Linked DNA regions of Homo sapiens: region 1 is linked to region 2. Evidence: promoter capture Hi-C in 16 types of primary human blood cells and fetal thymus (Javierre and others, 2016). All regions are on one chromosome and are shown on one strand. The core of a region is centred on a gene start or on the middle of the fragment in contact, and the rest is flanking DNA. Distances in the headings are between cores, read along the strand shown. Region 1 holds the start of KRTAP9-4 (keratin associated protein 9-4). Region 2 holds the start of KRTAP1-4 (keratin associated protein 1-4).

Region 1 (7,271 bases), core at 3,430-5,929, 220 kb after region 2:
TTTCTACAGCTGCAATACAAGAGCCCTTAGGCACAGAGATGCAGATTTTGACAGATGGAAATTGATCCAAGCACAGTAACATCCAAGATATATGGGTGCAGTCATGAAAACTTGTCTACAATCTACAATTAGCTCCACTCAAGTCAAATATTTGCTACTTAAATAGGATGGGCAGCCACAACCTCTAGGAGAAGGAAGAAGAGGAAGAGAGGAAGCAGAGGAAGAGAAGGGACAGAAGATGAGAGGAGAAGGAAAGAGAAAAGAAGGAAAGAAAAACAGAAAGACAGAGAGAAGGAAGGAAGGAAAGAAGGAAGGAAGGAAGGACAGGAAGGAGGGAGGGAGGGAAAGGAGGGAGCGGGGAGGAACTGAGGGAGGGGAAGGAAGGAAGGAAGGAAAAAAGAAAGAAAGAAAGATAAAAAGAAAGAAAGAAAGAGAAAGAAAGAAAGAGAGAGAAAGGGAGAGAGAAGGGAAGGGAAGGGAGGGAGGAAGGGAGGAAAAAAGGAAGGAAGGAAGGAAAAGAAAGAAAGAAAAGAAAGAAAGAAAGAAAGAAGAAAGAGGAAGGAAAGGAAAAGAAAGGAGAGGAAGTGAGATATAAAACGAAGGCCAATTAAATAATCTACACTTACTTCTGCTATAATACAGTGCACCTAAGTTTCATAAACTCCGTTAATTACCAAGAGTTCTATTCTCCCTTCACCCCTGGCCAGCACTCTTGTTGGTCTAGATAACTGCTGATAGAGTAGCTCAGAGCATCCTTCCTGAAGGGTCTGAGCCCCTGGTTACTATACCATTGTCCACCGTGATTGTTGTTTTTACTCATTTGTGGTTATCACTAGGCATGGACACACTGTGAGATTCTGCAGTGTTATGGGTTCATTTGCGTCCCTCAAAATTCATATTCAAATAGAATCATCTAAAGTGTTATCTGATAAGACAAGGTCATATTGGAAACAATTAGGCCTCTGATTAAATATGACTGTGTCTATTCACAAGGGAGAAATTCAGAGACAGTATGGATATAATAGAAAAATTATGTCAAACACACTTGGAGATGATAGACTTTGACACGTCAGGGAGAGAGACGTGGAACAGATACTTCCCTCGCAGTCTTCAGATGAAAACAACATTGCCAACACCTTAATTTCAGAAAAGAGGCCTTCAGAACTTTGATAAATAAATTTAAGCCACTTTTTTTCAGTAATTCATCAGGGCAGTGCTAGTAAATTAATATACTCAGTAAATCTCCTGAGCTATAGATATATTCTGCTACACTATATGGCTTGAGGGTAATTATCCCTCACCAAATAGTAACTACTTTCTCTGTCTGCTGCTTTGCTTATATGAAGAGTCCAAAATGACTAGGCGATAAAGATTACTTTTGTTTATGCCAAAGAAATAGAGAAGCAAATACTATACTTTTTATTCACATGAAAACTTTAAAAAACCAAAAATTACCTACAGGATTACAACTGATAGAGTGATTAGCTGTCTTTGGGAATGAGTAAGAGCATATAATTGGGAGAGAATGGAATTAATTTCTATTTCCTAACATAGATGTAATGGGGACACAGATGTATTTACAATATAATACTATATCAAGTTGAAAATTAATAATTTGCATTCTTCTCAAATGAATGGTATACCTAGAAAATGTTTTAAACATGTTAGAACTCCATGATGAATCAGGCATCATCTCAACTCATCTAATTCCTTCATTAAAAAGAAATAGAGAGAGAGAGAGAAGACATGCTGCTTACTGTGCTAGTAACCGGGTTGCGACTAGAGCCACAGCACATGCTGGTTGGCCTGAATCTCAAGCATTTATGCCATAGAGAGTCCTACATTCTCATTCTGGAATCGCCACGCTCACAGACAAGTCAGAATGAATGGTCACTCAGGGCATAGATTACTTGATGCTGTCTAAATCCCAGTGGATTTATCTGCATCCACCTGCTCTCGATCTGCTCTGCCACATGGAACACACTGTGACAAACACCCTCTTCCCAAGTGATGTTCAAAGAACTGAAAGACAGGTGGTGTGGGTTGCACAGAGAGATGCCTGCTAGTCTTGAGTCAGAATTTGGTGGGTGACTAGTCTTGGGCCCAGGCATGGATTCATTTTGTCACTGTAAATATATCAGCATCATGCTTCTCCCCACAGACACTTCCCAGTCTACATACAGCCAAACATGAGGCTGGCCAGAGAGAACTTCCTGAGCCTCCCAGATCAACAGGAACTATCACATGACCAGATGATGGTCAGAACAGGAATGATGCTGATGATGAGATTGCCTTCCTTTTATCTGAAACAAAGTGTCTATGAGTAATTCACAATTAAGAAACAGATTAAACCTTAATCTGTTTAACCTTAAGGAAACAACTACCCTTTGAGAATCACAAACGGACTGGGAAAACAATGTAAACGGAAACAAGGAAAAGTCCTGCTGATTGGTGGAAACTTTGGAGGCCAGGTGTATAAAAGGTCCAGATTGCAAGGGGTCATCAGATTCTGGGAAACTCACCTCTGAACAGAAGCCCACCCTCTACCCCTGACACCATGACCCACTGTTGCTCCCCTTGCTGTCAGCCTACATGCTGCAGGACCACCTGCTGCAGGACCACCTGCTGGAAGCCCACCACTGTGACCACCTGCAGCAGCACACCCTGCTGCCAGCCCTCCTGCTGTGTTTCCAGCTGCTGCCAGCCTTGCTGCCGCCCAACTTGCTGTCAAAACACCTGCTGCCAGCCCACCTGTGTGACCAGCTGCTGCCAGCCTTCCTGCTGCAGCACACCCTGCTGCCAGCCCACCTGCTGTGGGTCCAGCTGTGACCAGAGCAGCTCCTGTGCACCTGTGTACTGCAGAAGAACCTGCTACTACCCCACAACTGTCTGCCTGCCTGGTTGCCTAAACCAGAGCTGTGGCTCCAACTGCTGCCAGCCCTGCTGCCGCCCAGCCTGCTGTGAGACCACTTGCTTCCAGCCCACCTGTGTGTCCAGCTGCTGTCAGCCTTTTTGCTGCTGATCAAGTCCCAAGAGAACCACCATCCTCACACAACAACTTTCTGCTCAACTGACTTATCTTTTGGGGGACTAATTTAATTTGCTGCTGACAGCCACCATGCTCTCACCCAAATTTTTATGAATTCTCTACCTGTTTAAAATCTTGGGAATCTACTTGAGGGAGGGCAGAATACTTCATCCTGATTCTCTTTTTCCTTACACTTTGTGGATCATGTGCCAGCTTCGTGTGTTCTCAATTTTGAGTCATGGTCTCAGCTTTGACTCAAAAGTCAAGAGCTTCATTCTCTGCTTCTAAGGAATTTAGGTTTCTGCAACTGATCAATAATCTTTGCAATCATATTTTTGTTTTCAATATCCTCCTCATGGTTCTTGTATCCTTCTTTCTTCTTTTCATAACTTTGGGTTATGTTTCTGCTACCAGCAGAGATTCTTAGCTATATGTTTCTGAATAAACTCTGAACCATCCTCATCTCATATGGTGTTTTGTTTTATATGAAAGCATTCCTGATATGAGATTTACACACATATCACATACCATAGGTATTATCCAATTTGATTCTCAAAACAGATGGTCGTGTGTTATTACCTCCATTTTTTCAGCTGAGAACAATTTAATGTGTGATGTTATGTAGCTAGTAAAGGGCAGACTCTTGTCCAAGCTGAGGTCCTCTCTTTCTGCCCAAGGACACTTACATTTAACTCTCAATATAGTAGAAATGACATTGGAAGTAAGTATTAGCAAGTCATATACTTGAGTTTTTTTAACAATAGGACAAATAATCTCTTATATTTGCAGATAACGTTTTTGTTTACAAAAAATTCCCAATTTCCCACACCTCAGTGAGAAACAGCTGCGTGATATGGCAGCAGGGACTGCATTTAATGGCTGCCCTGAATGCAGGGAGCTCTTTTTGTCTCAGCCTCTGACCAGCCACTCATTCAATTCATCTACATCAAAAAAAGCTTGGGAATTTATTGTGGACTCATGAGAGAGAGTCTCATCTGAAGAAACTTGTTGTCAATATCATGTAAATAAAATACTTATACAGCCTTCATCTCCTGAATACCTATTGATGAAGTAAATGAAACTAAGTTATTTCTTGTAAAATGCAGACCATACATTTTGCCACATTAAGACAATTTGTCCCCTAATTGTAATGTTATGAGGGAAATTATGTAAGAACAAAGCTGAGAATTGAGAAACTACACAATGGGCATGTAAGACTTGGCACAATCCATAATCTCTGAGCCAAGTAAGGGAATGAAACAGCCTTCTGCATTTTGTGAGGCCAATAGGAAGCATTCAAAGAAATGAAAAACTTGTGTTTCCAGGGAAATCAGAAGAATGTAAGAAAGGAGCAAAGTAGAACTTGTGCATTCATAGAAGTCATAATAGACAGAGGTTAGTGCTTTGGGTCCTGAACCGATGTAAGCTAAGCATTCACCCATGGAAAGATTGATTGATACAGGCTCTGAGAGAAATATAAAAGTTGGGGACCTGGGTCACCTTCTTCGGACCTCCTACCAGCACTGGAGTGCTAGAATTACCTCTGATCAGCTAAAAATGTAGATTTCCATGACAGATGCCAACTTCTGAGACTGTGAATCTAGAATGCTCTGAAGACTTGGCTAAGAGACAACGGCCACTTACTGTGATCATCGTTCAGGGTTGAAGTAAAGGAGATGAAAACTAGGACATTCTCTTTGACTAGCATCATTTATGAAAGATGAATAAGTTCAGCATGTCTACTGTACAGTAATGTGACTATAGTTAATAACACTTTATCATATACCTGAAATTTACCAAGAAGGTAGATCTTAAATGTTCACACCACAAAAATTAAAAGGAAATGGTAGCTTCGTGACCTAATAAACATATTATTCACAAGGAATATATATATCAGAACATCACCTTGTATACCTGAAATAGATACAACTTTTATTTGTCAATTATACCTCAATACAGCTAGGAAAAAAAGTATTTAGTTGATCTAGTTAATTATTACAAAAATATTCCTATCTTCAACATTAAAATTGGTAATTTTCTGAACAAGAAACACTAATATGTTCTGGATTGCCTGCTATAGGATGGGTATTTGCTAAACACTTTGTGTACATTATTATTAACTCTTTAACAAACTTTCAGAATAGGTATTAATATTCCCAGCGTAGAGATAAGAAAATTGAGGCTGAGGGAGTTAACATAATGTCATAGATTAGTTTCTCCCGAAAAGACTTTGAAGAAAAGATTCCAGTGAAACTAGTTTACTGGGAAGTGCAGATCACACCGGTAGGAATTGGGGAAGTGATACAGAAAAGGGTACACTATAAAGTCAGTATCACAGTCACCAACTAAAGCTTAAACTAAAGGGAAAACTATCAGAAATGATGAAAAACACACAGCTAGAATTATCCTACTTCAGGAATGAGGAAGCTAGAGTCTTTATAAATCAGCTCTCCAGAATCATTGGTTGAGTGTTTTTCTCTGTGTTGCATTCACAGGTGGCATGACTTTCTACAGCTGCAATACAAGAGCCCTTGGCCACAGAGATGCGGACTCTGACAGATGGAAATTAATCCAAGCACACTAACATGCAAGATATATGGGCGCACTTACGAAAACTTGTCTGAGATCTACAATTAGCTCCACTCAAGTCAAATCTTTGCTGTTTAAATGTGATGGAGAGCCACAAGCTCTAAAAGAAGGAAGAAGCAGAGGAGAGGAAGAGAAGGAACAGAAGATGAGAGGAGGAAAGAGAAAAGAAACAAAAAAGAAAAAGAGAAGGGAGGAAGAAAGGAAGGAAAAGGAAAGGGAAGGGAAGGGATAAAGGAACCAAAAAAAAACATGAAGGAAGGAAGGAGAAGGGGTGATTGAAGAAAAAGAAAGAAAGAAAAATGAAGAAGGAAACGAAAAGCTGGGGGAGGAAGTGAGATATAAAATGAAGGCCAATGAAATAAGCTACACTTACTGCTGCTATAATACAGTGCACCTGAGATTCATAAGCTCCATTAATTACCACCAGTCCTATTCTCCCTTCACCCCTGGCCAGCACTCTTGTTTGTCTAGATAACTGCCTGAGGGAGTAGCTCAGAGCATCCTTCCTGAAGGGTCTGAGCCCCTGGTTACTATACCACTGTCCGCTGTGATTACTGTTTTTACTGTTTTGTGGTTATCACTGGGCATGGACACACTATGAGATTCTGCAGTGTTATGGGTTAATTTGTGTCCTCCAAAATTCATGTTCAAATAGAATCATTTAAAATGTTATGTGATAAGAAAAGGTCATATTGGAAACAATTAGGCTTCTGATTAAATATGACTGATATCTATACACAAGGGGGAAATTCAGAGACAGTATGCATATAGTAGAAAACTTATGTCAAACACACATGGAAATGATAGACATCTACAAGTCAAGGAGAGAGACCTGGAACAGATACTTCCCTCGCAGGCTTCAGATGAAAACAACATTGCCAACAGCTTAATTCCAGACTAGAGGCCTTTGGAACTGTGAAAAAATAAATTTAAGCCACTTGGTTTGCAGTAATTTACCATGGCACTGCTAGTAAGTTAATATACTCAGTAAATCACCTGAGCTATAGATACATTCTCCTACACTATGTGGCTTGAGGATAATTACCCCTCACCAAATAGTAACTCCTTTCTCTGTCTGCTGCTCTCCTGACATGAAGAGTCCAAAGTGACTATGCAATAACGATTACTTTTGATTATGCTAAAGAAATAGAGAAGCAAATACTGTAATTTTTATTTACATGAATATTTTTTAAAGCCAAAAGTTAGCTATAGGATTACAACTTGACAGAGTGATTAGCTGTCTTTGGGAATGAGTAAGAGGATATAATTGGGAGAGAATGGGATTAATTTCTATTTTCTAACATAGATGTAATGGGGACATAGATGTATTTACAATATAATAATGTATCAAGTTGGAAATTAATAATTTGCATTCCTCTGAAATGAATGGTAATTCCTAGAAAATGTTTTAAACATGTTAGAACTCCACGATGAATCAGGTGTCATCTCAACTCATCTAATTAATTCATTAAATAGAAGGAGAGGCTGTGGATGGTGGCTCATGCCTGTAATATCAGCACTTTGGGAGGCCGAGGCAGGCAGCTCACAAGGTCAGGAGTTCGAGACCAGCCTGACAAATATGGTGAAACCCTCTCTCTACTAAAAATACAAAAATTAGCCGGGCATGGTGGCCGGCATCTGTAGTGGCAGCTAC
Region 2 (6,449 bases), core at 3,493-5,992:
CATTCTTGTCTCCATCCTTCGATACCTTAATTCATCTTGCTTCATCCCTTTCGTTGTCCACCTACCCTTACATGGCCAATGATCCTCAATAAAAGAAAAGCTCCCACATTTGCTTTCGACTTGGAAATATGTGTCTTTTTACCATTACTTAACTTTTTAATGCACTTTATGTCTTCTTTGGTGTCATATATAGGAAATTGCCATTTTGAGAGCTTGCTGCAGTTTATTGCATAGTGTAATGGAGTGCAGTAGCATGATCTTAGCTCACTGAAACCTCTGCCTCCTGGGTTCAAGCGATTCTCCTTCCTCAGCCTCCCAAGTAGCTGGGACTACAGGTGTGCACTACCACGCCCAGCTAATTTTTTTTTTTTTTTTTTGTATTTTTAGTAGAGACAGGGTTTCACCATGTTGCCCAGGCTGGTCTCAAACTCGTGAGCTCAGGTAATCCACTCACCTCAGCCTCCCAAAATGCTAGGATTACAGGTGTGAACCACTGCTCTTGGCCTCAAGTAGACATTCTTGAATTATAAGCAGTTAAACCAGGTGATGTACAAGTGAAAACAAAGACAATGGTTTCTTTGCCTAGTATATAATATTTATTAAGAAATGACAGAAGACATTGTATCACAGATATAACTGAAATATCCAGCAGGCAAGATCATTATGATCCAAAAACCAAGGGATGGATCAGATGTTAAAATGTGGAAAGTCCAGCCTACTTCTTAGAAGCTGAATGTTGGGTGATGAGCTTCCATTCTCTCTGGTGACTTGAGGAATGTCACTTGGCTATAATTTGGTGTCTTTGATGTTGCAAAAAATTTTAGGTAAACAAGATAAAATAGATTATAAAGCATGGAAACATTAGACTTGTGGATAGTTCTCATGGATAAATTCCACAACATGTCAGTAATTTTTAATCCTGCAGAAATATCAGAAATAGTATATCCCAAGCAAATTGATGATCAGCAGGTGGCTTTGTAGCATTTCTGTGTCCCCAGTGAAGGGTCAAGGTATTCATTGTAGAATGGAATCAGATAGAATTGTGAGCTCATATACTTAGTAGTCTCCATCACAAGCAATGCAAAGTCTGAGAACTTGTTAGTGGTCCAGAGGTGGTCAAGGGATGAACAGTTCAGAGACACTGTGACCTAGGCAATTGAAAATAAGCAAACTGGCTTTCAGCAAGTGGGCTCACAGCAGCAGACTGGGCGGCAGCAGGACTGTCCACAGTAGGACGGGCGGCAGCAGGAGGCCTGGGCATGGTGCAGTTGGCAGCAGGATGGGGGCGTGCAGCTCACCACACAGCAGGGGGGTAGGTAGGTGCCCTCCACACGACTGTCTGGGCGGCACCACCTGATACGGGTGCTCACAGCTCCACTGCTGCCCTCCTGGCCATAGCTGATGCCACCACCAATGCCACAGCCAGTTCCGCAGGAGCTGATCTGGCAGCAGCTTGGCTGGCAGCAGCTGGTCTCACAGCAGCTTGGCTGGCAGCAGCTGGTCTCACAGCAGCTTGGCTGGCAGCAACTGGAGCTGCAGGTCCCACTGGTTGAGAAGCTGGGAAATCCGCAGAAGCTAGTCTGGCAGCTGCGTGGCTGGCAGCAGCTGGTCTCACAGCAGCTTGGCTGGCAGCAGCTGGAGCCACAGGTCCCACTGATGGAGAAGCTGGGATATCCACAGAAGCTGGTCTGGCAGCAGGTCATGGTGTCAGAAGTTGGGTTAAGAGTTAGGTTGCTTGGAGGAGTTTCTGAGGTTTGGTGGTGACTTCCACGTTGGTCCTTTTATATATCTGAACCAGCTGCTGTTTACAAAATTGTTAACATATTTTCTTTGTTTTTGTTTAAATTTGTTACTCCGTGGATCTCTGATTGGCTTATGTTGAAATACTTGTGACACATTATGAGCAATAGTTTAGAAATTACTGTTTTATAGTTTCTTCTGGACTCCTCATATCAGTCCTTTGCTCTTTGGAATATGTTTGTGGTTTCCCATGTTCAAAGAGTACTTCCATTTTAGTCCAAATGAATGCTCTCATTTTACATAATAGTTATTCCACGTGACAATCTATCCATACCTCTAAGGCTAAGAGTAATAATTGTGCTGTTATATTTAACTATTATTTTTTCCTCCTAGATATATAGACTAAATTTTATTGAATTTTGGATATCTGGATATCTACTGAACTGAAGGAATACCTTTGGTCATACATAATTCGCAGATTTCACCTTTTTTTGTTCCAATGTCTTATTGAATTACCGATTATAGTTCCTTTGATTTCAACCAATTTGGAATGTGTGACTATTATTCCTGTTCCAGACCAGAAATCTGTTCTTGGGAACCAAACTGACATAGTATTTAGGAAGGTATCCAGCAGAGTCCTTAGTTTGTGGTAGAACCTTAATAAATGTTTACTGAATCTGATTCAATAAATGTTTATTGAATAGGTGGAGTAAAAGGCTTGATTCATGGATATCAATACCACTCAAACATGATTAAAGAGAACTTTCAAGCTGTAGTACTTCTCATGAAAGAGTCTTGTTATTTGCTGTAAAGAGACTAGGAAATGTGTTTTTTGGTTTATTTTATTTTATTTTTTGGATTTAGTAGTGGAACCGGGCTCGGGAAAAAATATCTAGGAGTTATGACACTTTGAAAAATGTACTGCCATCTACTTTATTCCTCTTGGAAATTGCATAATTTTGTGTGTAATCCATCATTGCTACCAATTAAATATAGAGGTAAGTTCTGGGAGCTTGTAAATAATGTGGAAAACGTGTTTCTTTCTATATTTGCATCCTATTGTATTTTGTGTATTACACTCTAATGCCTAATGAAGAATTTAAAAATTAAATGGTAAAATATGTTTTGTTTTGTTCTAGGTTGTGTTAATTTTTTTTTTTGAGACAGAGTCTTGCTTGTTGCCCAGGCTGGAGTGCAGTGGCGTGATCTTGGCTCACTGCAAGCTCTGCCTCCCAGGTTCACGCCATACTCCTGCCTCAGCCTCCCAAGTAGCTGGGACTGCAGGCACCCACGACCACACCTGACTAATTTTTTTTTTGTATTTTTAGTAAAGACTGGGTTTCACCATATTAGTCAGGATGGTCTCAATCTCCTGACCTCGTGATCCACCCATCTCAGCCTCCCAAAGTGCTGGGATTACAGGCGTAAGCCACCGTGTCCAGCGTGTTAACTTCTTAAGAGAATATCTTTTAAGTTGGGTTGCAAAGTGCAAAATATAATCGAGCTGTTTCAGATTTCTAACACTTCTGTCTGACAAATGGCAATGGTAGAACTCAGCGGGTGCTCTCTATAGCTGTTTCTTCTACTATCATTTAGACCAAAGATACACCTTATGCATACGTACATCAAATGAAGGTGAATAGTGGGAGTTGAAGCTTAGAGAGCAATTCAAGGATCAGTGGGAAGAATGTGAAAGGCTAAGGTGTAGAAATTAAACCTAAATTCTCTTGGAAAATAGGTAGTATCTAGTAGCTATTTTTAAATCTATTTAGAAGGTAATGCAATTTCTTTAGATTTTGGGGCATAAATGAAGGAGAACATTTAGTATATTAAATGGAAGGAGACAAAAGATGGTAGAATTACATTTAGATAGAAATCAATAGCTTTGATCAACCTTAACATTTTAGCTAAAGGTCAACCTTTATTGGTCTAGACCTAATCATAATAGATTAGAGCATGTAAATATTTGAACTATAAAAATTCTTTAATTCATGGAGCATTTTTAAGCTGATGGATTCAAGCATAATTTACTTTGTATTTAATCTTTCTGGTTTAGACTTTATGGTTATGCCTTGGTATTATTATCAAATTGCAAATCCACTCTTGAATACCAGCTACAAGAAGACATGTTTAAAGGTAGAAGGAGGACATAACTCAGTTTGCTTTGCACATTAAAACATTTTATTTGGATTAATCAGAGATATTCAAGGAAAAACCAGGTCTGAAGATGCATGAGCATCAAGAGAGAGTTGGGGGAGCAGAGATGTCACTGAAATGATGAACTATTCCATCCTGGTCCTCTGCTCAAGCAACGCAAGCTATCCAGAACACTGATTGATACATCTTTCAGTAAGTGAATTCGGCACATCCACAGTGTCCTAACTAGGAGTTTCATTATCTCTGAGCAGCTTAACAACATCATGGTACTTAGCATCCAAGTAAAATCGAACAGTTCTTCAGAAATCAGCACAATTTTGCTGTGCTTCCCCTTTCATTCTTAAGCGATCAGCAACCTGGCTTTTAGCAGGTGGGCTCACAGCAGTGGCAGCAGCAGGCTGGGCGGCAGCAGGACTGTCCACAGTAGGACGGGCGGCAGCAGGAGGCCTCGGCGTGGTGCAGCTGGCAGCAGGATGGGGGTGTGCAGCTTACCAGGTAGCAGGGGGGCAGGCAGGTGCCCTCCACGTGGCAATCTGGGTGGCACCACCTGATACGGGTGCTCACAGATCCACCGCTGCCCTCCTGGCCATAGCCAATGCCACCACCAATGCCACAGCCGGTTCCGCAGGAGCTGGTCTGGCAGCAGCTTGGCTGGCAGCAGCTAGTTTCACAGCAGCTTGGCTGGCAGCAGCTGGAGCCACAGGTCCCACTGGTGGAACAGCTGGCCATGGTGTCAGGAGTTGGGTTGAGAGCTGTGTTAAGAGAGGTTTCTGAGTTTGGGCTGTACCTTCTATATCTGTCCTTTGATATGTTCCCTAGAGCTGCATATTTACCCAACACCTTTTCTTGATGTCAATTTCAGTGTGAGTCTCTGGCTAATACCTGAGGTGTTTATAAAGTTATAAATAGCATTTCAATAGCCTTTTTCCATTGTACAATTAAGTCTCATTATGTTTCTTCTTTGCCCTCTGGGCGAAGTGAAGGCTCATCATGGAAGCCAAGCACCGAAGTGCCTCTTTATGCAAGTCACATGACAGACTAGCCTTGAGCCAAGTGTCGCCCTGGCACGTTTTGTCATAGTTGTCCTTTGATAACCTTTAGGCAGAATTTATCTTAACTGATCATTTTTCCTTAAATGGTCACTTAACTATGATCATGATTTTATAAACAATTTGTCCAGACTTGGAAAGACTAACATTAGTGTCATCAAAACATGAACTACAACCTGATGTATCAACTTTCAAACCAAGTATGCCTTTCTATGATCAATTTGTGCAAGTTATAGGATCCTCAGAGCTCTATCTAATATTCTTGCCTTCAGTAATAGTGAATGTACAAATTGCTAACTAAAATCTTTAATGACTTTTGCTTGTAGATTGTTTTCTGACTCTATTAAATTAAACATATGTGCTAGTAATGAGTACACATTGTAACAAGTCAAAGAGTACAGAGGTATATAAAGAAAAATTAGTGTCTTTTCCCTTCCTGGAAGATGCACACATCTCTTCCAAAACTAATGCTCTAGAGGTAATCAATATTAAGAATTTGGTGCACATTCTTTGACACCTTTATCCTTGCTTCTGCAAATATAAACCAGCATATATACATATATATCTTCTATTTCAGAAAAGTTTGGGTCTCCTACACATGTTTATAGTTACAAATTTTTAATTGTGGTAAAATATACATACCATAAAATTTATGAACCATTTACATTAACCATCTTAACCATTTGTAAATAGTCTTGTCACCCTTGTTGAAAATCATTTGACCACATTCACATTCAGAAGAAATGAAATTAGACCATTGTCTCACATTATATACAAAAACCAACTTAGAATGGATTAAAAGACTGAAATGTAAGAAAGACTCAAAATGATAAAACTATAAGAAGAAAACAGAGGAAACTCCATGACTTTTGCCTGGCCAATATTGTGATATTGTGAACATGAATCCAAAAGCATCAGCAAAAATAGACAAGTGGGATTACATCAAACTAAAAAGCTTCTGCACAGCCAATAAAACACTAAACTGAGTGAAGACGCAAACCGCTGAATGGGAGAAAATATTTATAAACCACATATCTGATAAAGGGTTAATATCCAAAGTATAGAGGAAACTCAAACAACTCAATACCTGTAGTAAGAAAACAAATAACGTAATTGAAAAATGGGCAAAAAATCTAAATAGACATTTCTCAAAAAAAATCTACAAATTGCCAACAGGTATATGAAAAATTTTCAAAATCACCAATCATCGGATAATGCAAATTGAAACCACAATGAGATATCGTCTCACACATATTAGATAGTTATTATCAAAAAGACAAAAGATAGCAAGTGTTGGAGAGGAAGTGGAGAAAAGAGAACTCTGGCACACTGTTGGTGGAAATGTAAATTAGTACAGCCATTATGGAAAACAATATGAAGGTTCATCAGAAAATTAAAAATAGAACTGTCATATAATCAAGCAATCCCACTTCTGTGTATATACCCGAAGGAAAGTAAATCAGTATTTTGAAGAGACATCTGCATTCCCATGTTCATTGCAGC

Evidence for each region. Contacts are between HindIII fragments. The CHiCAGO score rates a contact against its expected background, and 5 or more counts as called.
Region 1: a fragment that was not itself captured here is called in contact with the fragment with the promoter of KRTAP1-4 in region 2 in 2 of 17 cell types (M2 macrophages and endothelial precursors); the score reaches 6.4 in M2 macrophages.

The regions. Positions count from the first base shown.
Region 1 is chr17:41,247,164-41,254,434 of GRCh38, forward strand. KRTAP9-4 (keratin associated protein 9-4) reads left to right here and starts at 2,524. Exons shown (of 1, transcript NM_033191.3): 1 at 2,524-3,490. The coding sequence starts at 2,558. The coding sequence ends at 3,022. RefSeq lists an enhancer at 2,251-2,805. The HindIII fragment of the contact is 1,395 bases long and covers 3,983-5,377 here.
Region 2 is chr17:41,025,453-41,031,901 of GRCh38, forward strand. KRTAP1-4 (keratin associated protein 1-4) reads right to left here and starts at 4,743. Exons shown (of 1, transcript NM_001257305.2): 1 at 3,899-4,743. The coding sequence starts at 4,626. The coding sequence ends at 4,261. KRTAP1-5 (keratin associated protein 1-5) reads right to left here and starts at 1,756. Exons shown (of 1, transcript NM_031957.2): 1 at 574-1,756. The coding sequence starts at 1,703. The coding sequence ends at 1,179. RefSeq lists an enhancer at 3,833-4,382. The HindIII fragment of the contact is 2,506 bases long and covers 3,394-5,899 here.